Regions from separate parts of the Homo sapiens genome. Here regions 1, 2, 4 and 5 are each linked to region 3. The links are contacts of gene promoters, found by promoter capture Hi-C in human tissues and cell types (Jung and others, 2019). All regions are on one chromosome and are shown on one strand. The core of a region is centred on a gene start or on the middle of the fragment in contact, and the rest is flanking DNA. Distances in the headings are between cores, read along the strand shown.

Region 1 (4,610 bases), core at 1,652-4,151, 1.7 Mb before region 3:
CTGAAAAGCTGCCCTTTTCCTACTGGTGCCCCTGCAGTGTGAGCCCAAGCAGACACATACTTCAGAGGTGCTACATTTGTGCTACAAAGCACAGATCCTTCTTGACCTGGAGGCCAGCCTTACCCACTGAGACCAGGTTCCTGTAGTTCTCCAGCATCACTTCCCTGTACAGGGACTTCTGTTTGAGGTCCAGCAGTCCCCACTCTTCCGGGGTAAAACCCAGTGTTACATCTTCAAAGGTCACTGGTTCCTAAAAATCCAGATTCTTGTTCAGCCACAGGCCATCCGCATCCACGACAAAAGAAAGACAGGGGAGGCTGACCAGGCCAGTGAAAGCACAGAATGGTCTACAAGATGACCCAAGGGCATTTTGGGAGTCTCATCCTGAGTTCCTGTCTTTGTCTGAAACCCCAAGCAAACCCAAGCTTGACTCTATTCAGGTTACAATAAGGAGAGCAACACATGAGATCTCTGTAGCATATGAAAATCTGTCCATTTTATTTATTTATTTATTTATTTAATTTATTTATTTATTGTTTTGAGACAGAGTCTCACTCTGTCTCCTAGTGGAGTGCAGTGGCGCAATCTTGGCTCACTGCAGCCTCCACCTCCCAGGTTCAAGCGATTCTCCTGCCTCAGCCTCCTGAGTAGCTGGGATTACAGGCGCATACCACCATGCCCGGCTAATTTTTGTATTTTTAGTAGAGATGGGGTTTCACCATGTTGGTCAAGCTGGTCTCGAACTCCTGACCTTGTGATCTGCCTGCCTCGGCCTCCCAAAGTGCTGGGATTACACATGTGAGCCACCGCACCCGGCCCTATTTTTCTTTTCTTTTTTTTTTGAGACGGAGTCTCTCTCTGTCGCCCAGGCTGGAGTGCAGTGGCGCCATCTCGGCTCACTGCAAGCTCCGCCTCCCCGGTTCACGCCATTCTCCTGCCTCAGCCTCCCGAGTAGCTGGGACTACAGGCGCCCGCCACCACGCCCGGCTAATTTTTTGTATTTTTTTAAGTAGAGACGGGGTTTCACTATGTTAGCCAGGATGGTCTCAATCTCCTGACCTCGTGATCCACCTGCCTCGGCCTCCCAAAGTGCTGGGATTACAGACGTGAGCCACCGCGCCCGGCCCCCTATTTCTTATTCATTTGAAAATTCTGACTTTGGGAGTGGTGCGTATGCCTCCTAGGGAATTCTCTGAGCTGCACCATCACACCCAAGCCGTCAGCCCCTACCCAGGGCCCTGATGCTTCTTTCTATCTCCTTCACCTGTCAGGGATCCATCCTCACCTGTCTTTTCTACTTGTTATTGAACTCTGCTGCTGTCACCTCTTGCTTGATGCCAATTTATCTGCTGAAATCTAAACATAAGCCTGATCCCTGCATAGACCTTTGGGAGGCCGAGATGGTCGGATCACCTTAGGTCAAGAGTTCCAGACCAGCCTGGCCAACATGGTGAAACCCCGTCTCCACAAAAAACACACACAAAAAATAAAAATAAAAAAAAAATTAGCTGGGTATGGTGGCACACGCCTGTAGTCCCAGCTACTCGGGGAGGCTGAGGCAGGAGAATCACTTGAACCCAGGAGGCGGAGGTTGCAGTGAGCCAAGATCGCGCCACTGCACTCCAGCCTGGGCGACAGAGGGAGACTCCATCTCAAAAAACAAAAAACAAACAAACAAAAGACCTGTCAATTACTCTTCCCAATATAAAGGATACAAGCAAGAGCCTTAACCTGGCCTTCAGAAGCCCCTACAATCTGGTCTCTATTCTAACTACACCCTTGGAAAACCAAGCAACCTGCGGTTCCACCATCACGCAGGATCTCTCATGCCCAACCAATCTCTACCCCCTCCCCGAGGTGCTCTGGAGGATGGGGGTATCTCAGGGAAGGTGGTATCTCACCACCATCCGCATCCTCCCAGGTGCAGTAGCGGACTCAAAAGCTGAAGGAAGCCTCTACTCACACAGGACCAGGCCGTCGGAAGCCTGGAGGCCATAGTTTCCTCCTTCTCAATGTGTCTCTGGTGGAAGTGGGCAGAGTCCTGAGGAAACCGAAGTTGGGAGGGGAGGGAGAGGCTTAAGGTGTCCGCTGGGGAGCTACCGCAGCCTCCGCCCAGGAACGGCTCCCTCAGCGGGAAATGACAAGTCCACCCAAACTGGAAAACGCCCAGAGTGAGTCATAGGACTCCCACAGGACTGGATAGGACCAGTTTTCCCCTCCCCGAGAGGACACCGAGCCTCCTCTGTCCCGCGCATCGGAGGGGATCGCCTCCCTGGCCCAGACCCCACGCTTCCGGAGGCGATCTGTTCTCTCCACCGCGGCGCCCCGAAAGCACTGTCTCCCCTCGGGGTTCCGGGTCACCGACCCCATCCCACAGAGCGGCGGGAGGACTGCAGGCACGGCCGGCTCAGGGTACCCGAGCTCGGCGGAAAATGCAGAGGCCGCGCTCGCCCCCAACTAACGGTTCTGGACCCGCCCAGCGCAGCCCCCGACGGACGCAGGTTTCGCGCGGCACTCACCCGGCGCGCGCCGCACAATGGCGCCCGTCGGCCGGCGGCGAAGTGCGTCAGCCCGCCGTCCCGAACTACAACTCCCAGACGCCCCCGCGGCGCGCCAGCTTGCCTCACCCAGCGGCGGCCATCTTGACTGGCCGGTTAGGGGCGGCAGGCGAAGCCGGGGACAGCAGGAGGAGGATACTCGTCGATGTCCCTCGGCGGTCCAGCTAGGCAAGGGGAGGCCTCTGGTGAGGGACGCTAGGCCGCAGGGCCCCACACTAATGTGGGCGGCGACCCGAGCTGGGAGAGAGTCGTGCCCTGCCACGAAGGCGACCACTCTTGGGGCAGAGCAGAAGCTGGAGAAAGGAAAGGCGCTGGACAGGGGTCAGGCCGGAAGTGCTGGAATGGGTGATGCTTGGTTGGGTGGCGGTGGGGGCGGGATTAATTATGACGTCCCTTGGGAAGAGGAAGGGCGGGTAGGGCCGGAAGTGCAGGGGGCGGGCCTAACTGGCCGTCCATCTGGGTGGAGGGGCGGGGACAGGGAGGGCGGGGAGAATGTAGGAGGCGGGGCTAGAGTCCACGCAACTTTTGGGGAAGGAGGGGGACTGGAAGACGGAAGTCGCGGGGGGAGTGGGGAGAGGTACTGAAGTTCCACCAGTTTCAAAGTCGAGAAAGAAGGGGAGGACTGGGAGAGCCGGAAGTGTGCAGGAGTTGGGACTGACGGCACTTATGTTTCTGGGAGATGGGTCCTGCCTGAAAGTGAGGGTGGACAGGGCCAAGTGTCCACTCAAGGTCAGGGAGGGGAGGGAAACTCGGAGGACCGGAAGTGTGATGGGAACGTGGCCAAACGTCCACCCTAGTTCTGGGGATTAGAGGAAGGGAGTAGGAAGGTCAGGGGTGTGCAAGGGGAAGGAGGGAAGACTAGGTGGACCACAAGTGTGATGGGAATGAGGCCAAACGTCTACCCTAGTTCTGGAGAGATGATCAGGGCTAACTGTACCCCAGGCATTGGGGAGGAGGAGCAGGATCCTCTGCCTAGTGTCCCCCTGTGGTCCAGTTTGCTCCTGGAAGCTGAGGTGCTCATGTCTAGGGAGAGGAAACCTAAGTCTGTAGCTGTCCAGGACCTGGTGTGTGCCACCCATCCTTGGGCCCAGGGTGCTCTCATCTTCCTTGGGAGCTCAGGACAAGGAGGTATTCTCTTGGCTTCCTCAAGGACCGACATCTGGTGTTTTCTTATCTTCCTTAGGTCCCAGGTCCCAGTATGGTCTTGTCTTCTTGGGACCTGAGGGCCCTAATGATCTCTCTCAGTGCTCAGGACCCTGTGTCCTCTTTCTTGATATTTCCTGGCAGGTCTCAGCAGCCCTCTGCCTCCCTCTGGTGGTCGTGTACACTGCCTGCTAAACTTGTTCCACGGGTTGTTGGTTTTTTTGGTCACTGTGGAGGATCCAACCTCAGGCTACACATTGTTTAATTGTTGCTGTTAGTGTGTTGATTTTGGCATAGGAGTATTTACTCAGAGACTGTGCAGATATCTTATAGTCTAATAATATTTCATTGGATTTTTCGTGTCTATTATAGATACAACACCATCCCCAATTAATAAGTAATTTGATATCTTCTTTTTCCATATTTCAACTTTAAAAAATTAACATTGTATAGTCCTAGCTAGTATGACAGAGCTATGTTAAGTAGTCATGTTTACTAATAGTCTTGTTTTGTTCTGGATTTGAATAGGATACGTCTAGCCCTTCATAATCACAAGGAAGCAAACCCCCTTGGAAATTCTTTTTTTTCTTTCTTTTTTTTTTTCTTGAGACAGGGTCTTGCTCTGTCACCCCGACTGGAATGCATTGGTGCGATCACAGCTTACTGCAGCCTCCACCTCCTGGGCCCAAGTGATCCGCCCACCTTAGCCTCTCAAATAGCTGGGACAGGTGCACACCACCACACCTGGCTTTTTTTTTTTTGGAGACAGAGTCTTGCTCTGTCGCCCAGGCTGGAGTGAGGTGGCACAATCTCGGCTCACTGCAACCTCTGCTTCCTGGGTTCAAGCGATTTTCCTGCCTCAGCTGCCCAAGTAGCTTGGACTACAGGTGTGTGCCACCATGCCTGGCT
Region 2 (4,707 bases), core at 1,046-3,545, 1.4 Mb before region 3:
TTTTTCTCCACCTTGGTATTGTTCAATGTTTTTAATAAAGAAAAAAAAATCTCAATGACAAAACCAACAAGGGGGACATTTTTAATCACATGCTGACCTTAATTCCATCTCTTCGTAGACATCACTGTTAAAACTTCTGGGCCGGGCGAGGTGGCTCACACCTGTAGTCCCAGCACTTTGGGAGGCCACCTCGGGTGGATCACCTGAGGTGAGGAGTTTGCGGCCAGCCTGGCCAAAATGGTGAAACCTTGTGTCTACTGAAAATACAAAAATTAGCTGAGTGTGGTGGCAGGCACCTGTAATCCCAGCTACTTGGGAGGCTGAGGCAGGAGAATGAATTGCTTGACCCAGGAGGAGGAGGTTGCAGTGAGCTGAAACTGTGCCATTGTACTCCAGCCTGGACAACAAGAGTGAAACTCCTTCTCAAAACAAACAAACAAACAAACAAACACCTGTAAAGTCAGCTGGGAGCAGTGACTTATGCCTGTAATGTCAGCATTGTGGGAGAAGGAGGCAGGCAGGTCAGAGGTCAAGAGTTTGAGACCAGTCTGGCCAACATGGTGAAACCTTGTCTCTACTAAAAATACAAAAATTAGCTGGGCGTGGTGGCAGGCATCTGTTATCCCAGCTACTTGGGAGACTGAGGCAGGAGAATCGCTTGAACCCGGGAGGTGGAGGTTGCAGTGAGCCAAGATGGCGCCACTGCACTCCAGTCTGGGACAGAACGAGACTTTGTCTCAAAAAAAAAAAAAAAAAAAAAGAAAGAAAAACTTCTGTGAAGTGTAAATTTTTTTCACCATCCACTCATGTTTCAATTGACCTATTTCTGTCATCGCAGTTATTAGATAGTCGTTGGTAATAAGTTTCTGTAACTGGCATTTCACCTGTTTTTCTGGTATCATATTAGTTCCTCATGCAGAACACTCCCCGCTGTCACAAGAGAAACAAATGATAATCACTTCCCAGGAAAGATAACAAGCTCGATAATTTAACATACGCCTAGTGTCTCCAGGTGGAGATTATCACCACCATTACCAATACCAAGCTGAGATTTCTCTTTCATTGTTCTTTACCTGAGACTGACTTCAAGTTCCTAAAATGAGTTGAAAATATAAGTTAGAATACCAAGTAAGGGATATTACATGAATAAATGTTTTGCTGAATGAATTGGACACAATAATTGACTATATAAGCAGGAGAGTTGTTTTTCCATGGGAACGACTGATTGACCTTTGTACTCTTTCTTTAGCCTCTCCTCTATCTTCCTTGGCATGGTCCTATCTGGATTAGTTCTCTTTTGTCCCTGGCAGACTGAAAAACCAACTCTAATGCCTCAGAGTGAGGCAGGAGAATAGGGAATTAGGGTAACCAAGAATGAAGGCATAAGCAAAAGAACAGCAGGTGCAGCTAGTTCTAGGCAAGATGAGGCAGCACACAGGCCACGTCCTCACTCCTGTGGTAACAAGACAGAAGTCTCCACTTCAGCCTCTGATTGGTTGTGCACCAGTCCTTCATAGGATTGGAGGCCTTTAAAGAACTCTTGGGGTATTATAAAATTCTAGCTTATTCATGGCAAAAACCGCAATTACTTTTGCACCAACCTAATAAAACCCTAAAAAACATTGTAATCGGGGTTCTTGAGCCGCTTGGTCGCCTGCTCCCACACCTACATTCCACTTCTGTGGAGTGTACTTTCCCCTCAATAAATCTGCGCTTTCATTGGTCCGTTCTTTCGTTGCTTTTTTTGTGTGTTTTGTTCACTTCTTTGTTCAATGCGCCAACAACTGGACAACTCACAGCCAAGACATTCTATCCGGTAACAAGAGTGCATTCATGTGAATTATAACAGAGTAATGTTTATCAGCCTCTGCTTCCAGTGCAAGCATTCTGTGTCTAAACGATTGTATAAAGTGATACACGAATTTGGATTTGTAGCCTTTGGGGGCCTTCACAGTATTTTTAGCGCCTGGGAGCTTGAATTTACAGAAATGTGAATTAATATTTTTGCAAACACTTAGGTGGTCAGTTACAAACAGGGATTCCCCAGGAATCTCAATATGGCCTCTAAGGAGGGGCGAGACCATCCTCTGCCCTAAAAGGGTACGCGCTTTAATGAACCCCCTGAGGTAGGGCTGGGACTTCCCTGCAGAAGCGCCTTTGGGAAGCGGCAGCTTTACTACCTTGGAACCTGGGGAACTACATTACCCAGAAAGCTCTACATTGAATGACAGCGCAACAGAACCAGTAAGGGCTCAGAATAAAGGCGTTTCTGTGTGCGCACGTAACGTAGTGGCGGGATTCTCAGCGTTCTCTGGTAGCGACCATTTTGGTTAATGTTGGGTGTGTTTCTGCGGTTTGTGAGGTGAGAGGCGCTGGAGCTATGGGTCCGAACCGCGGTGTCTGAACCCAGAAGGTGAAGAGTCCTTCTTGCTGCACAGAGGCAGATCTTAGGCCCCGTAACGGCGCCCGCCGCTCCCGGCAGTGCTTTCCCCGCGTACTCGGGATGGCGGCGGCCGCGCTGAGGCTCCCGGCTCAGGTAATTGTGCCTTCCCTGCCCTCAGGTCACCTCATCCTAACCCGAATCCTGAAGCAGCGAGAGAGCGGCGACTGTTCACAGGTCTGCAGCCCGGACCCGGCGTCGGGACACTGAGGCGTTCGCGGGAGAGGTCCTTGTTTCTGACACCTGTGGGATGCGGTGGGGAGAGCGACAGGCACAGGGACCGGCGCGGGCTATGGCCTGGAGGACAGACCCGGGAGGATGGAACCTGGGGTCCACAGGCGCCTGTAGGGAACAACGTGTGAGGCGAAGCTTCTCCTGGAAGAGCAGGCTGGGGGCTGTGTATTCGCTGTGAAGACGCTAGAAGCCATGGAGAGTTTCGAAGAAAGGAGGGATGCGATCCAAGTCCAGGCTTTTAAGGTTTCCCAAAGGCCAAAGGAAGAACATAGTAGAGGAGATGAGGACCTTAGGGTTCTGGGAGGTTGACTCCTTTGTTGATAGATCACATAGGTGGTAGAGATGACATTTTGCACTGAGACACGCAGGTCAACCAGTCTGAGGTCACCTGGCTCCAGCGATAAGAAAAGGTTCAAGGAGACCTGAGCTTATCAGATCCCCTTTGTAACGTCTGCTTTCCCCTCAGACACTCCTGGCTACAAAAGCACGTAAAGAACCCACTGAGGGGGTCGGGCAAGGTGGCTCCCACCTGTAATCCCAGCACTTTGGGAGGCCGAGGCGGGCGGATCACCTGAGGTCGGGAGTTCGAGACCAGCCTGACCAACATGGAGAAACCCCGTCTCTAACAAAAATACAAAATTAGCCAGGCGTGGTGATGCCGCATGACTGTAATCCCAGCTACTCAGAGGCTAAGGCAGGAGAATTGCTTGAACTCGGGAGGCAGAGGTTGCGGTGAGCCATTGCACTCCGGCCTGGGCAACAAGAGCGAAACTCTGGCTCAAAAAAAGGAACCCACAGAGGGAATTAGAGGGTGTTCCATTCCCTCACTGGCCTTATTCCCCATTCACATGTTCTCTAGCTTGTGATGTCCTGGGACTCTTACTTGCCATTTTTTCAGTCCTTTGATCTGAGAACACTGGAGAAACCCTAAACCCAGAATCCTAAGTCCATGACACAGGATGTATGGAGGTATTCCCATTTCTGTCAACCCATGTAAACATACTTTGAAGGTTAACTACAGAGTTGGTACCAGGTCATGAAATGCTTAGAGGTAAAAATTCGGTGGGGAGGCAAGAGGGCGGCGAGGAGGTGATGTTACCACAGTCCCATTTGTCTGCAGGCATCATCTGGCTGCAAAGAAGAGAACACACTGTGTTTGAGGGAGGAGGAAGGAGGATCAGAGTTTAAACTCCTGCCATAATGCAGGTGAGGGTTACTGGACCATATTAATGAGTAAGGAGCTGTGGCTGGATTCAAGATTCACAGTTTGTAAAATGGCAACTAGATTTTCCTTTTTTTTTTGAGCGGGAGTCTCGCTCTATCGCCCAGGCTGGAGTGCAGTGGCACGATCTTGGCTCATTGCAAGCTCTGCCTCCCGGGTTCACGCCATTCTCCTGCCTCAACCTCCCGAGTAGCTGGGACTACAGGCGCCCGTCACCATGCTCAGCTAATTTTTTGGATTTTTTAGTAGAGACGGTTTCACTGTGTTAGCCAGGATAGTCTCAATCTCCTGACCTCGTGATCCATCGGCCTCGGCCTCCCAAAGTGCTGGGATTACAGGCATGAGCCACCAAGCCCGGCCATGCCCGGCTAATTTTTAATATTTTTAGTAGAGATGGGGTTTCACCGTGTTAGCCAGATGGTCTTGATCTCCTGACCTCGTGATCTACCCGTCTCGGCCTCCCAAAGTGCTGGGATTACAGGCGTGAGCCACCAAGCCCGGTCGGTAACTAGATTTTCTAATAGACTGTGAGGGCATGAAAGGGGAATCAGGTATGACCACCAGGTTTTTGGTCTTAGCATCTGCAGTGATGGAAGCTGCATCAACTGAGATGAGCACATAGTAGGTATAATATTCATTGGGGATGTGAAGAATGTTGTTTTGACCATGTTAAGAGTCTGAGATAGTTTAGCCTCCATTATGACATTGACACACTTCAAATTTTCATGGTAAATCTTTTGTGGGGGCCAGGAAGGGGTGGTTGCAGGCTGAGGGCTGAATTTCTTGCTTGGGTCCCTGGCTGACATTGCCA
Region 3 (4,199 bases), core at 525-3,024:
GTTGACATGCTCTGCAAGACTGTGCACCTTATCCTTGCTGCTTTCCAACAGCCCTTTTTCAAGGGCTATATCCTTTCTAATGTATGTTTAAGATATCTCTCAGCCTGTCATATGCCTTTTAACTTTGCATACAGTATCTTACGCCATGAAAAAGGTTTAAATCTTCTACACAGTCCTGTCATTCTCTCTTCATGGCTTCTGGACCTTGTCCTGCTTATCAAAGACCTCCTGAACCTAAAGGCACAGAAATACTCTACATTCTCCTCTACCATCTTAACCTCTTACATCTGTAATGAGTATAGAATGAACTTCTGTGTAAGGAGTCAAATGGGATGCTGACTTTATTTCTAGTTGGACAACTGTCAAAGACATTTAATCTCCCCCAATGATACATCGAAAACACTTTTCAAATATAAAAAACCCATGGATACGACCTTCTACAAAACCTCCCTTCTGATTCCTGCCTAATTAACACTCAACATGAATTTCAGAACTGTCAATGTAAAAGTAACTTACAGGATTACAATATTGAAACATTCATGTAGGATCATGTTATGGATCTCCATTTATTCACAGCCTCTGTTCTCCATCAGCAGAGGCTAATAATTTCCTTTTGTATATAACTAAGTAAACTCACCTATAATTTCATTTCTTTCCCCTTGGTTTGATATCAGAGTTGACTTAGCCTCATGAAAGAAGTGGAACATTTTAAGTGTTTTTTTTAAAAAAAATATACTCCAGAACAACTTTACTAGTGGAACAACTTTACTTGGAAGGTTAGAATAAATCTGTGAACCCACATGTTGAAATAGAACTATATTATTCAATTTCTCTTTCTTCAGTTAAACATTAGTGATTTTTTTTTACTTGACTAAATAAAGTCTTGTATATATTCCCCGCAGGAATTCTAATTCTTTTGTTCGTTTTATCCAGAGCTATATAGCCACTTCTTAAAACATGTTCTATTTATCAAGTCATAATTAATTTCCTCACCAACAAGGGAACACAGCCTTAATCATGAGACAGCCGCTGTGATGTCTTATTATAATATTAAATGTTAAGCATACTACATGTGCTAATCACCATCTACCTTAAGATACTGTTTTAAGTCAGGCTGGTTGCCTGTAATTGCAGCCACTTGAGAATGAGGTGGGAGGGTCACTTGAGCACAGGAGTTTGAGACCACCCTGGGCAACATAGAAAGACACCATTTAAAACTTTTTTTTTAGCTTAAAAAAAGATACTGTTTTGGTTCCAAAATTTTTATGACTGCCATACTGCTTTCAAGAATGCACTGTTTAAAAATAATTTACATCAATTCTGGAGAATACTTATCTAACATTTACTAAGCACTTAGTATGAGTTGGTCATTTTGCTAAGCACTTTATGTACATCAAGTATTTTAACTAGAGTTTTAAGAGTAACTTAATTTGCATTTTTGAAAGGTCACTGTGGCTGTAATGTTAACTCGAAAGGGACAAAAGAGGATGAAGTTTTAGAATTCATGGGTATGCAACCCATTGAATGTGAGGACTTTTTTGCTTATCGGAGGTGGTGTATCACTAAAACTATGCACAGACTTTTTTTTTTTCTTAGCTCATCAGCTATTGTTAATGTTAGTGTATTGTATGTGTGGCACAAGACAATTTTTCTTCTTCCAATGTGGCCCAGGGAAGACAAAAGGTTGGACACCTGTGTAATGATTGAAATAGTCCAGGTGAAATGACTGTGTTTTGGACTGGGGAACCAAAAGAAGTGGATAAATTCCAAAAATATTTAGCAGATATATCCACAGGACTTGGTGATGTAGTGGGTGAGGAAGAGCTGGCTGCCTGAAATGAACTCACTAATGAGCAAGGTGTGCATCTTGTCTGAGGACATTTGCACATTCTTTACATTGTTAAGACCGCTCTGCAGTATGAATTCTTCCCTGTAAAGCATTCAATCTGGCTGAAGGTTTTTCTTCTGTATGCTTCACGAAGTTCTCATGCTGTGTTTTTCAGCTCCATCAGGTCATTTATGTTCTTCTCTAAACTGGTTATTCTAGTTAGCAATTCCTCTAACCTTTTTTCAAGGTTCTTAGCTTCCTTGCATTGGGTTAGAACATGCTCCTTTAGCTCAGAGGAGTTTGTTATTTCCCACCTTCTGAAGCCTACTTCTGTCAATTTGTCAAACTCATTCTCTATCCAGTTTTGTTCCCTTGCCGGCAAGGAGTTGTGATCCTTTGGAGGAGAAGAGGCATTCTGGTTTTTGGAATTTTCAGGCTTTTTGCACTGGTTTCTCCTCATCTTCGTGAATTTATCTACCTTTGGTCTTTGATGCTGGTAACCTTCAGATGGGGTTTCTGTGTGGATGTCCTTTGTTGATGTTGATTATATTCCTGTTAGTTTTCCTTCTAACAGTGAGGCCCCTCGGCTGCAGGTCTGCTGGAGTTTGCTGGAGGTCCACTCCAGACCATATCTGCCTGGGTATCACCGGTGGAGGCTGCAGAACAGCAAAGATTGCTGCCTGTTCCTTCCTCTGGAAGCTTTGTCCCAGAGGGGCACCCACCAGATGCCAGCCAGAGCTCTCCTGTATGAGGTGTCTGTGGACCCCTGCTGGGAGGTGTCTCCCCGTCAGGAGGCATGGGGGTCAGGGACCCACTTGAGGAGGCAGTCTGTCCCTTAGCAGAGCTCAAGCGCTGTGCTGGAAGAACTGCTGCTCTCTTCAGAGCTGGCAGGCAGGAATGTTTAAGTCTGCTGAAGCTGTGCCCACAGCCACCCCTTTCCCCCACGTGCTTTGTCCCAGGGAGATGAGGGTTTTATCTGCACTTTTTTCAAAGATGCGCTGCCCAGAGAGGAGGAATCTAGAGAGGCAGTCTGGCTACAGAGGCTTTGCTGAGCTGTGGAGGGCTCTGCTCAGCTGGAACTTCCCCATGGCTTTGTTTACGCTGTGAGGGGAAAACCACCTATTCAAGCTTTGGTAATGGTTGGCGCCCCTCCCCCCACCAAGCTTGATCATCCCAGGTTGACTTCAGACTGCTGTGCTGGCAGGGAGAATTCCAAGCCAGTGGATCTTAGCTTGCTGGGCTCAGTGGGCATGGGAACCACTTGGCTCCCCGGCTTCAGCCCCCTTAACAAGGGAGTAAGCGGTTCTGTTTCACTGGCATTCCAGGTGCCACTGGGCTATCAAAAAAACTCCTACAGCTAGCTCGGTGTCTGCCCGAATGGCCGCCCAGTTTTGTGCTTGAAACCCAGGGCCTTGGTGGCATAGGCACCCAAGGGGGATCTCCTGGTCTGTGGGTTGCGAAGACCATGGGAAAAGCGTAGTATCTGTGCCGGAGTGCACCATTCCTCATGGCACAGTCCCTCATGGCTTCCCTTGGCTAGGGGAGGGAGATCCCCGACTCCTTGCACTTCCCAGGTGAGGTTACGCCCCACCCTGCTTCAGCTCACCCTCCGTGGGCTGCACCCACTGTCTAACCAGTCCCAATGAGATGAGCCAGGTACCTCAGCTGGAAATACAGAAAGCACCCACCTTCTGCGTTGATCTCACTGGGAACTGCAGATCAGAGCTGTTCCTATTCGGCCATCTTGCCAGCCTCCTGGCTGAAGGTTTTTCTACATTTCTTACATTTATATGTTTTTTATCCAGTGGGACATCTCTGATTAACAGTAGGGGATTGGTGATAACTAAAGGCTTGGCCACATGCACTACATTCTTAAGGTTCTTCTCCAGTATGACTTCTTTGATGACAAATTAAGGATAACTTTCTTCTGAACGCCTTCCCACATTCAAAACACTGATAGGGCCTTTGGCCAGTGTGGAGTCTTTGATGCTGAGCACAGGATGAGCTATCACTAAAAGCCTTTCCACATTCAGTACATTTATAGGGTTTCTCTCCAGTATGAATTCTTTGATGTTGAGTAAGATTGGAAGTTTGGCTGAAGGCTTTCCCGCATTCATTACACTCATAAGGTTTCTCTCCTGTATGAGTTTTCTGATGTTGGGCAAGGTGTGATCTCTGTTTGAAAGCATTTCCACATTCAATACATTCATAAGGCTTCTCTCCAGTATGAATTCTCTGATGAGTAGCCAGCTGTGAACTGATTCTAAAAGCTTTTCCACATTCTTTACATTCATAGGGTTTTTCACCAGTATGAATTCTCAAATGACTAACAAGGTGTACATTCTGCCTAAAGGCTTTCCCACATTCCTTG
Region 4 (4,260 bases), core at 1,510-4,009, 1.2 Mb before region 3:
TTGCTCTTGCTTCTCTAGTTCTTTTAATTGGATGTTAGGGTGTCAATTTTAGATCTTTCCTGCTTTCTCTGGTGGGCATTTAGTGCTATAAATTTCCCTCTACACACTGCTTTGGACGTGTCCCAGGATTGTGGTATGTTGTGTCTTTGTTATCGTTGGTTTCAAAGAACATCTTTATTTCTGCCTTCATTTCGTTATGTACCTAGTAGTCATTCAGGAGCAGGTTGTTCAGTTTCCATGTAGTTAAGTGGTTTTGAATGAGTTTCTTAATCCTGAGTTCTAGTTTGATTGCACTGTGGTCTGAGAGACAGTTTGTTATAATTTCTGTTCTTTTACATTTGCGGAGGAGTGCTTTACTTCCAACTATGTGGTCAATTTTGGAATAGGTGTAGTGTGGTGCTGAAAAAAAATGTATATTCTGTTGATTTGGGGTGGAGAGTTCTGTAGATGTCTATTAGGTCCGCTTGGTGCAGAGCTGAGTTCAATTCCTCGATATCCTTGTTAACTTTCTGTCTTGTTGATCCGTCTAATGTTGACAGTGGGGTGTTAAAGTCTCCCATTATTATTGTGTGGGAGTTTAAGTCTCTTTGTAGGTCACTAAGGACTCGCTTTATGAATCTGGGTGCTCCCGTATTGGGTGCATATATATTTAGGATAGTTAGTTCTTCTTGTTGAATTGATCCCTTTACCATTATGTAATGGCCTTCTTTGTCTCTTTTGATCTTTGTTGGTTTAAAGTCTGTTTTATCCGAGAGTAGTATTGCAACCCCTGCCTTTTTTTGTTTTCCATTTGCTTGGTAGATCTTCCTCCATCCCTTTATTTTGAGCCTATGTGTGTCTCTGCATGTGAGATGGGTTTCCTGAATACAGCACACAGATGGGTCTTGACTGTTTATCCAATTTGCCAGTCTGTGCCTTTTAATTGGAGCATTGAGCCCATTTACATTTAAGGTTAGTATTGTTATGTGTGAATTTGATCCTGTCATTATGATGTTAGCTGGTTATTTTGCTCATTAGTTGATGCAGTTTCTTCCTAGCCTTGATGGTCTTTACAATTTGGCATGTTTTTGCAGTGGCTGGTACCAGTTGTTCCTTTCCATGTTTAGTGCTTCCTTCAGGAGCTCTTTTAGGGCAGGCCTGGTGGTGACAAAATCTCTCAGCATTTGCTTGTCTGTAAAGTATTTTATTTCTCCTTCACTTATGAAGCTTAGTTTGGCTGGATATGAAATTCCGGGTTGAAAATTCTTTTCTTTAAGACTGTTGCCTTCTTTAGAATATTTATTTAGGGTATTGTGACAAAGTCAAAAGGTGATGCAGGACAAAAATCATTATATGCAGGACATGTCCTGTATGTATAGGAATCTTGGAAATTTTATTAGTGATGTCTTTCATGCTACTAACACATTTGAAAAACACCTACTGAGAGCTCGTATGTGTTCCTTGGATGTGTATTTTAACAGTGAATTATCAAGACAGCACAACTTCACTGTTGATTTTTACCATTCTGATATCTTCTTTACAATTGCTCAGCATTTTCAGGAAAAAAGAGTCACATTTTGTTGACAAAGTGTGGTCAAGATCACAACACAACCATATGCTTAACTTCATTCTTTCACTTATACTTTAGTATTCAGGCTCAAACTTTACTGAGATCTTAACTTTGTCCATCTATCACAGATATTTCCTTAGAGCAATTTCTTTCATTATCTTCAAATAACTACGGAATCATTATTAATAGCTGTCAGGATTTTTCCCCCGGGGATAATCTCACCTCCTAACACAGACACCATACTTACAATGACAATGACAGGTTAAATGGTAATTGCACTGTGTTTTGCTGTGATGGAGACATCACTGATTACCCAGGCAGGAAGAGTTTTCTGAAGAAATCTGTCCACTGGTTTCAGGGAGACTCCACATCATCCCTCTTCCTTCTTCCACTCCAAGGCCTTGTTTGGAATATTTTCTCTTCCGTCTCTGACCAAACTGAAGCTCACAAAAGTTACTGTAAAGCTTGAGTGCACACATATTTAAAAAGCAACAAGGTAATAGTTATTAGCTTCTAGCTGTGAGTGTACGCAAAGAGACATTGTGGTGTGGTGTATCTATTTAGTTTTGCAGCTTTGGGGAACATCTGAAATGTCTCAACATTTCTGCGATCGGTGCATACTACACTCCAGGGAATCTAGGTCCAGGCCTTTTAAGAGGACAGAAGTCAGCCGGGCACCATGGCTCACTCCTGTAATCCCAGCACTTTGGGAGGCCGAAGCAGGCAAATCACAAAGTCAGGAGTTCGAGACCAGCCTGGCCAACATGGTGAAATCCCGTACTCTGCTAAAAGTACTAAAATTAGCCTGGCGTGGTGGCGGGCCCCTGTAGTCCCAATTACTTGGGAGGCTGAGGCAGGAGAATCGCTTGAACCCGGGAGGCGGAGGTTGCAGTCAGCCGAGATCGCGCCACTGCACTGCAGCCTGGGAGACAGAGCGAGACTCTGTCTCAAAAAAAAAAAAAAAAAAAAAAAAGAGGACGGAAGTCCTGTCAGCCCTTTGAAACTCGGGTTACTTTTCCCAAACAACTTGGCCCTCCTACTTCGAGTTTTCCCAAGAGCCCAGGCCGAGAATCCCCTGCCTTGAAGGATAGCTCAGTGGGAACCACACTCTACCCACAAACCTATACGTTGCATACCCAATGAGGGCCCAGGAGAGGGGTGTTTCAGTGCCTGCGGGGGGTGCGTGGGCGGGACTTCCGGCTCCTCCTTGTAGCGGACATTTTGTTTCTGTCAGGCTGTCCCTGGCCGGGGTTCTGTAACGCTTGTGTGGGCCGCAGGTGGAGGTGTTGGGAAAGCGCGGAGGAGATGTTGTCCCCAGTGTCCCGAGACGCGTCTGATGCTCTGCAGGGACGGAAGTGCCTGCGTCCCCGATCGAGACGCCTGCCGCTCCCGGCAGCTGTCCGCGCCCACGGTCCTATGGCGGAGCTAACGGACTCCGCGCGGGTGGGTGCTGCGTCCTCCGGGCCCTCAGTCACCCTTTCTCCGACTCCGAATCGTAAAGTGCCTGCAGCCCCTGTGTCCCAGGACAGCGACGCACTCTTGGGGCGGGGTCCTATCTCGGTGTGGGTGGGTGTGGGAGAGTTACGGGCGGAGGGGACGGCGCAGGTAAAGGCTCGGGGGTGCTGCTGACCCCCAAACATTTGGGAGACAGGGTTCTCATCAACACAGAGCAGAGTTTGAGGAACTGTGACTGGAATGGCAGGCTGAGAAGTTGTCGCTTCATTCTGAGGGCGTTGAGATTAACTGAGGGTTTTGAATAGAAGGACGTGATCTTAGCTGGGATTTTAAGTGTCTCGAAATTTGCTCAGGGGAGAACATTAGTTTGGGGTGGGGACTGCGAGGATGGATACGAGGAGACCGGTAAGGAGGCTACTGCAGTGGATTCCAGGAATGCTTTGGTGGTGGATGTACCAAGAGTAATGGCAGGTGAGTGGGTAGAAGTGATCATATTCTGGGTAGGTTTTAAATTTGAAACCAACAGGATTTTCTGCTCCATCATATGCAGCTATGACTGAAAGTAAGGCATGAAAGAGCAAGGTGTTTTTGTTGTTTTTCCATGAACGTTTGGATTTTGGAATGGTGACTTTGAGATGTCTCAGAGTGGAGGCTTCCTCACTTAGGCAACTAGAGAGGAAGGTCTGAAGTTGTGGGGAAGGGGCTGGGCTTAGAATATCTTTGGGGTGAAGGGAGCGGTCTGGAGTAGGTCAAGGCCAGGAGGTCAGATTTAAGTGGGGCAGTCTTAAGTATGTTATTTCATATCTCTGGGGTAAGAGATGAGAAGGCTGGGACTGCAGGGCAGGGAAGAGGGAGTGGGCATTCTTGAGACTCCCCCCAGAAGAGAAGGGTCCTGCCATTTGAAAGGGTTCTTTTCAGTGTTTGCAGGAGGAGAGAGCTGTAGGGTATGAGGAGTTTGGCCTGGGATGGCAACGATGGGTGGTGTGCTATTGCTACTATCTGATTATCTCACCCTCATTTTGTGTGTTTTCTTTTAGTTTTAGTTTATTTATTTTTTTTATTTTTTTTGAGACGAAGTCTCACTCTGTCGCCCAGGGTGGGATGCAGTGGCTTATTGCAACCTCTACCTCCCGGGTTCAAGAGATTCTCCCGCCTCAGCCTCCCAAGTAGTTGAGATTACAGGTGCCCACAACCACCCCTGGCTAATTTTAGTATTTATAGTAGAGACGGGGGTGGGGAGGTGGGAGGGGTGGGGT
Region 5 (4,649 bases), core at 2,017-4,516, 1.8 Mb before region 3:
TCAGGGAAATGAAAAATCAAAACTATACACCACCAGTGTTGCTGCTAGGTTAAAAAACAAAACAAAACCACATATACTAAATACTTCAATTTTTTTATTTTTTATTTTGAGACAGGGCCTCACTCTGTTGACCAGGCTGCAGTGCAGTGGTGCAATCTCGGTTCACTGCGACCTCCATCTCCCTGGTTCATGTGATTCTCCCACCTCAGCTTCCCAAATAACTGGGATTACAGGCATGTGCCACCAAACCCAGCTAATTTTTGTACTTTTAGTAGAGATGGGGTTGCACCACGTTGGCCAGGCTGGTCTTGAACTCCTAACCTGAAGTGATCCATCTGCTGTGGCCTCTCAAAGTGCTGGGATTACAGGCATGAGCCACTGCACCAGGCCCCAAATACTTCAATTTTAAAAGGACATTTCCTTTTAAGAAAAACATGAGTAGATTAAAAAATAAGAAAGAAATTTTAGTACAGGTAGCAGGTGGCTCTAATAGGAAACATACAGAAAGATGCCTTTGGTTGGGAACTGAGGTCTCTGCTCCTGTCTCTGTGTCTTCGCTTTCCTCCACTCAGAATGCCCACCAATTTTGATTTGTGCTTCCCGTGCCTCCTGCCCCCACCTCCCATCATCACCCATTCTGCAAGAGTCACTGGTGACAGCCTAGACACCACGTCCACTGAGTACTGGTCTGTCCAAGCCATGAGAATTCTCAGTGGCATCATACAAGTCCTTCATGCCTCCTCTTGGCTTCCTTCTTGGAATTCTAGCAGAAGCCCACTCCTTGTTGTCTCATGATGTTCTTTCTGCCCTACATCAGATCCCTGCAGCCTTCCCTCTTGTCTTGCACTTCTGGAGCCTGAAGGGGTGGGGCTGTGCTCTGATGTTTCTCCTTTACATATTCTTTTCACCCCAGCATCAGCCAACACCTGGTCACTGGGCCTAACCACTCCTCTCTTTTTCCCACTGCCTTAGTTGAGCTGCCAGTATCTCCCTTCCCACCAGCCCCTAATGCATAAGTGGATTTTTTCAACCCTATGCCAGTCCTGCTTAAAACACGTGAATGGCTCCTTCTCATCACTGAATACTGGATGGCTCCTCTCAGCCTGGCTATGGTAGACTGAGATATATAATGGCCTCCAAGGATATCCAGGTCCTAGTTCCTAGAACCTGTGAATATTACTATATATGGTAAAAGGAACTGTGCAGATGTGATTAGGATTTTCAAACAGAAAAATTATCCTGGATTATCCAGGTGGGCCCTAAATGCAATCACAAGTGTCTTTATAAGAGGTAGACAAAGGGAGCTATGACTATAGAAGACATAAGGCAATATGATCACTGAAGCAACATGCTACAATGCAGGCTTTGAAGACAGGCAAAGGGCCATGAGGCAAGGAATAGAAGGTCTGTACCTCTCACAGCTGGAAAAGACGAGGAAACATTCTACCCTAGAACCTTGGTAGGGAGGGTAGCTCTGCTCATACCTTGATTCCAGACCAGAAAACCGATTTCAGACTTCTGACCTCCAGAACCTAAGAACAAATGTTTTAAGCCACAAAATTTGTAGTGAATTGTTACAGCAGACACAGATAACCAGATAAAACACTGGACCTTGAAGCTCTCCATTCTGGTCCTTGTCTCCTGTGATGGACAGTCTCCAAGATGCTCCCCCACCACCTCTGCCAATGACCTCCAGCCCTGGTGTGGTCCCCTCCAACACTCAACAAGGTTGACTTTGTAACCAGTAAGACACCGTGGAAGTGACAAGAGTGTGAATTCTGAATCCAGGTCATGGAAGGTGTTACAGTTTCTACCTTGCCCTCTCCTGGATCACTTGTTCTGTGGGAAGCCAGATGCCATGTTGCAAGGATCCCTAGCAGTTCCAAAGAGAGGCCTACATGGAGAACAACTGAGGTCTCCTATCAACAGACATGTGAGTGAGCCATCCTGGAGGTGGATCCTCCAGACTCAGGTCTCAGGTGACAACAGCTATGCTGACATCTTCACTGTAACTTCATGGGCCTGAACCAGAACCACCAGCTAGGACATTCCATTACTCCTGTCAGAACTCGTGAGATATTTATTGTTGTTCCAGGTCACGAAGTTTTGAGTTACACAGCAACAGGTAACTAATACACTTTCTCTCAAGCCTTTCTTACGACTCATTCCTTGTCCCCCATCCACAGCAAGAACAAAATAAAACGTGGTAGCATTTCATGCAAATTTGGAGCAACACACATCTGAAAACCTGCAACCTAAGATTATCAAGTCTCACTTTGTGTACCAAATCTGAAATAATGCAAATCCCCATGAACAAACCAACGACAAAAAATAAAAAAAAGTATAATTTCAAAGTTGCAGAGCTTGAGGAAGGATAATTATTGTTGTTTCCTGCCACGCGAGGCAGCTTTATGGAGAACACAGGCCGCAACCACTTTGTCTAGAAAGTGGAGCTCTGATGGCCAGATGGCCCTGCAAACACTGACCGCCCTGCACTGCAGTTCTCCCACAGTCTCGCAGGGGACGACCCTGGTGGTCACTCTCATCACACTCAGTGCGTGGTGACCCATCATTGCCCCCAAGAGGTTGTGCCCAAGCCCCAGGGCAGGGGCTCCGCGGTGCTGGGGTCCCGGTGGGTGTCCGCTGACTCCACGCGTTAAAGCATCTCTATTCGATGATTCTTGCCATCTGGGCACCCGGCCAACGCTACAATTACTGTTATCAGTCAACACGAGGACAGACCTTCCTGGAATGGGCAAGGGTGTCGGCGGGGCGGAGCAGAACGCAGGAGATGGGCCTGCTCGATTCTCTCGGGAATGACCGACCCCAGCCCTGGGGAGGACAGAGCCGCGTGGAGCATGCGCATTCGGGGGCCAGGCGCCTGGTTGGAATCCCGGCCCCCTCTCTGACCAGCCAGGACGGTCACCACGCCCCGACCCGCGTCTGAGTTTCCCCACGTGTCAAGGGCATTAACAGCGGTGCCGCTCTCATCGCGCCGCGAGGTGAAAGGGTCAGTCTGCGCGGGAGACGCTTGCCCGGAGCCCGCCGCCGTCGTTATTGTTGTTATTGTTACCTGAAGCCGGGCCGCCGGCGGCCCCACAGACATCACTCCCGCTACCCCTTCGTCCTCGGGGTCCATGCTGGATCGCCCAGTGAAGGACAGCGCCTGAGGTGATCCCCAGACCAGAGAGGCACTCCAGCCAAAGGGACCACCCGACTCGCCGAACGCCGGACAATGGCGGCCGCACCGGCGACGCGGCGACTACAACTCCCAGTAGGCCGTGCGGCGAACCACAGCCCTCGGCCAATGGGAGTCTCCGCTGGTCTGGCCTTCGACCAATGGAAGCATTATGGCCGATGGCCAATGGGAGCCCCCACCCGCTGGCCTCTGGCCAATGGGAGCACTCAGCTAAGGCTGGTGGGGGCGGTGTTGCTCGGGGCTGCGATGCCCCTTAGGTTGCGGGCAACCAGAGGCCTCACTCGTGGGCAGGAAGCAAGGGCGGACCCCGAGAGATGACTGATTGTGGGGGTGGGGACCGTCTGCTCCTCCTAATGGCTGGGGACCGTGCACGTCTGCGCGGGCCGGACCTGCTCTTCTCGGGAACTTGCGCGGGAGGAGGCCCGGAGCTGCGCCGCTTTACCCTCTGCTCCCCGGTGCCTAAAACGCACACGCATCAAAGTCACAGGACGAGTTAGAGGTTTGTTCATATAAAAGACTTTGGGCTTAGCGGCTGGAAGCGGGGAGGCTGGGAGCGGTGGTTGTGTTACAGGAAAGGGGTCCGATTCAGACCCCAAGGGAGGGTTCTTGGATCTCGCGCAAGAAAAAATTCAGGGCGAGTCCGCAGTGCAAAGTAAAAGCAAGTTTGTTGAGAAAGTAAAGTTGTGAAACAGCTACCCCATAGACAGTAGGACGTTCCTGAAAGTAAGAGGAACGTATGCACCCTAGGTACAATGCTTGTGTATATTTGGGCTAAAAATAGATTTTGGGGAGATGTGCTCTGCTACAAGGGTTTGTGAAAAAGGATTAATTTTCTTACTGTATTTTTCAAGAATCGATATTATTTTTAAAGCAAAATTAGGAATGCCTTTGTTCTCTAGATACCGGGATATCTGGACACTCCCAAGTCTGGGTCTGTTTTAGTACCCATTATTAATTTGTTCCCTTAACCGTAAACATCTAGAGGTTAGGAATACCTACTTTTCTGGGAATGCAGCCCAGCCTCATTTTCCTAGCCCTCACTCAAAATGGAGTCGCTCTGGGTCGAATGCCTCTGACAGCCCTATTGCTTCTCCCTGTGGGTGTTCACTTTGTGATGTGTCTTTTTCTGTGGGTCTGTTGTAGTCCATTAAAATGTTTATTAAAGGTCGGGCGCGGTGGCTAACGCCTATAATCCCAGCACTTTGGGAAGTCGAGGCGGGTGGATCACGATGTCAGGAGCTCGAGACCAACCTGGCCAATATGGTGAAACCCCGTCTCTACTAAAAATACAAAAATTAGCCCGGCGTGGTGGCGGGCACCTGTAGTCCCAGCTTCTCGGGAGGCTGAGGCAGGAGAATCGCTTGAACCTGGGAGGCGGAGGTTGCCGTGAGCCGAGGTCAGGCCACTGCACTCCAGCCTGGGTGACAGAGCAAGACTCCGTCTCAAAAAA

Evidence for each region. Contacts are between HindIII fragments. The study calls those that stand out against the background at their distance.
Region 1: a contact is called between the fragment with the promoter of ZNF274 here and a fragment that was not itself captured in region 3, in 1 of the 25 tissues and cell types used here (dorsolateral prefrontal cortex).
Region 2: the fragment with the promoter of ZNF418 here is called in contact with a fragment that was not itself captured in region 3 in 3 of the 25 tissues and cell types used here (dorsolateral prefrontal cortex, hippocampus and lymphoblastoid cells).
Region 4: the fragment with the promoter of ZNF671 here is called in contact with a fragment that was not itself captured in region 3 in 1 of the 25 tissues and cell types used here (dorsolateral prefrontal cortex).
Region 5: a contact is called between the fragment with the promoter of ZNF8 here and a fragment that was not itself captured in region 3, in 1 of the 25 tissues and cell types used here (dorsolateral prefrontal cortex).

What each region holds. Positions count from the first base shown.
Region 1 is chr19:58,181,352-58,185,961 of GRCh38, reverse strand. ZNF274 (zinc finger protein 274) reads right to left here and starts at 2,901. Exons shown (of 8, transcript NM_133502.3): 1 at 2,520-2,901; 2 at 1,964-2,041; 3 at 124-250. The coding sequence starts at 1,996. RefSeq lists enhancers at 2,049-2,238, 1,865-2,576, 2,489-2,908, 2,577-3,290. The HindIII fragment of the contact is 17,090 bases long and covers 1-4,610 here.
Region 2 is chr19:57,932,990-57,937,696 of GRCh38, reverse strand. It overlaps ZNF418 (zinc finger protein 418), which reads left to right and starts at 2,295. Exons shown (of 6, transcript NM_133460.3): 1 at 2,295-2,536; 2 at 3,795-3,880. The coding sequence starts at 3,875. RefSeq lists enhancers at 2,328-2,417, 2,010-2,892. The HindIII fragment of the contact is 9,006 bases long and covers 1-4,707 here.
Region 3 is chr19:56,525,450-56,529,648 of GRCh38, reverse strand. ZNF471 (zinc finger protein 471) reads right to left here. Exons shown (of 5, transcript NM_020813.4): 5 at 1-4,199. The coding sequence ends at 3,701. Among named protein-coding and RNA genes, the nearest start is that of ZFP28-DT, 11 kb to the left of the region's middle. RefSeq lists an enhancer at 2,802-4,001. The HindIII fragment of the contact is 5,520 bases long and covers 1-4,199 here.
Region 4 is chr19:57,726,123-57,730,382 of GRCh38, reverse strand. ZNF671 (zinc finger protein 671) reads left to right here and starts at 2,759. Exons shown (of 4, transcript NM_024833.3): 1 at 2,759-2,992. The coding sequence starts at 2,855. RefSeq lists enhancers at 2,413-2,462, 2,603-3,042, 2,560-3,060 and a silencer at 2,381-2,606. The HindIII fragment of the contact is 7,784 bases long and covers 1,611-4,260 here.
Region 5 is chr19:58,277,572-58,282,220 of GRCh38, reverse strand. ZNF8 (zinc finger protein 8) reads right to left here and starts at 3,266. Exons shown (of 4, transcript NM_021089.3): 1 at 3,074-3,266. The coding sequence starts at 3,139. ZNF8-DT (ZNF8 divergent transcript) reads left to right here and starts at 3,479. Exons shown (of 3, transcript NR_187495.1): 1 at 3,479-3,698. It overlaps ZNF8-ERVK3-1 (ZNF8-ERVK3-1 readthrough (NMD candidate)), which reads right to left and starts at 3,255. Exons shown (of 7, transcript NR_144447.1): 1 at 1,612-3,255. RefSeq lists enhancers at 2,671-2,720, 3,141-3,190. The HindIII fragment of the contact is 27,521 bases long and covers 1-4,649 here.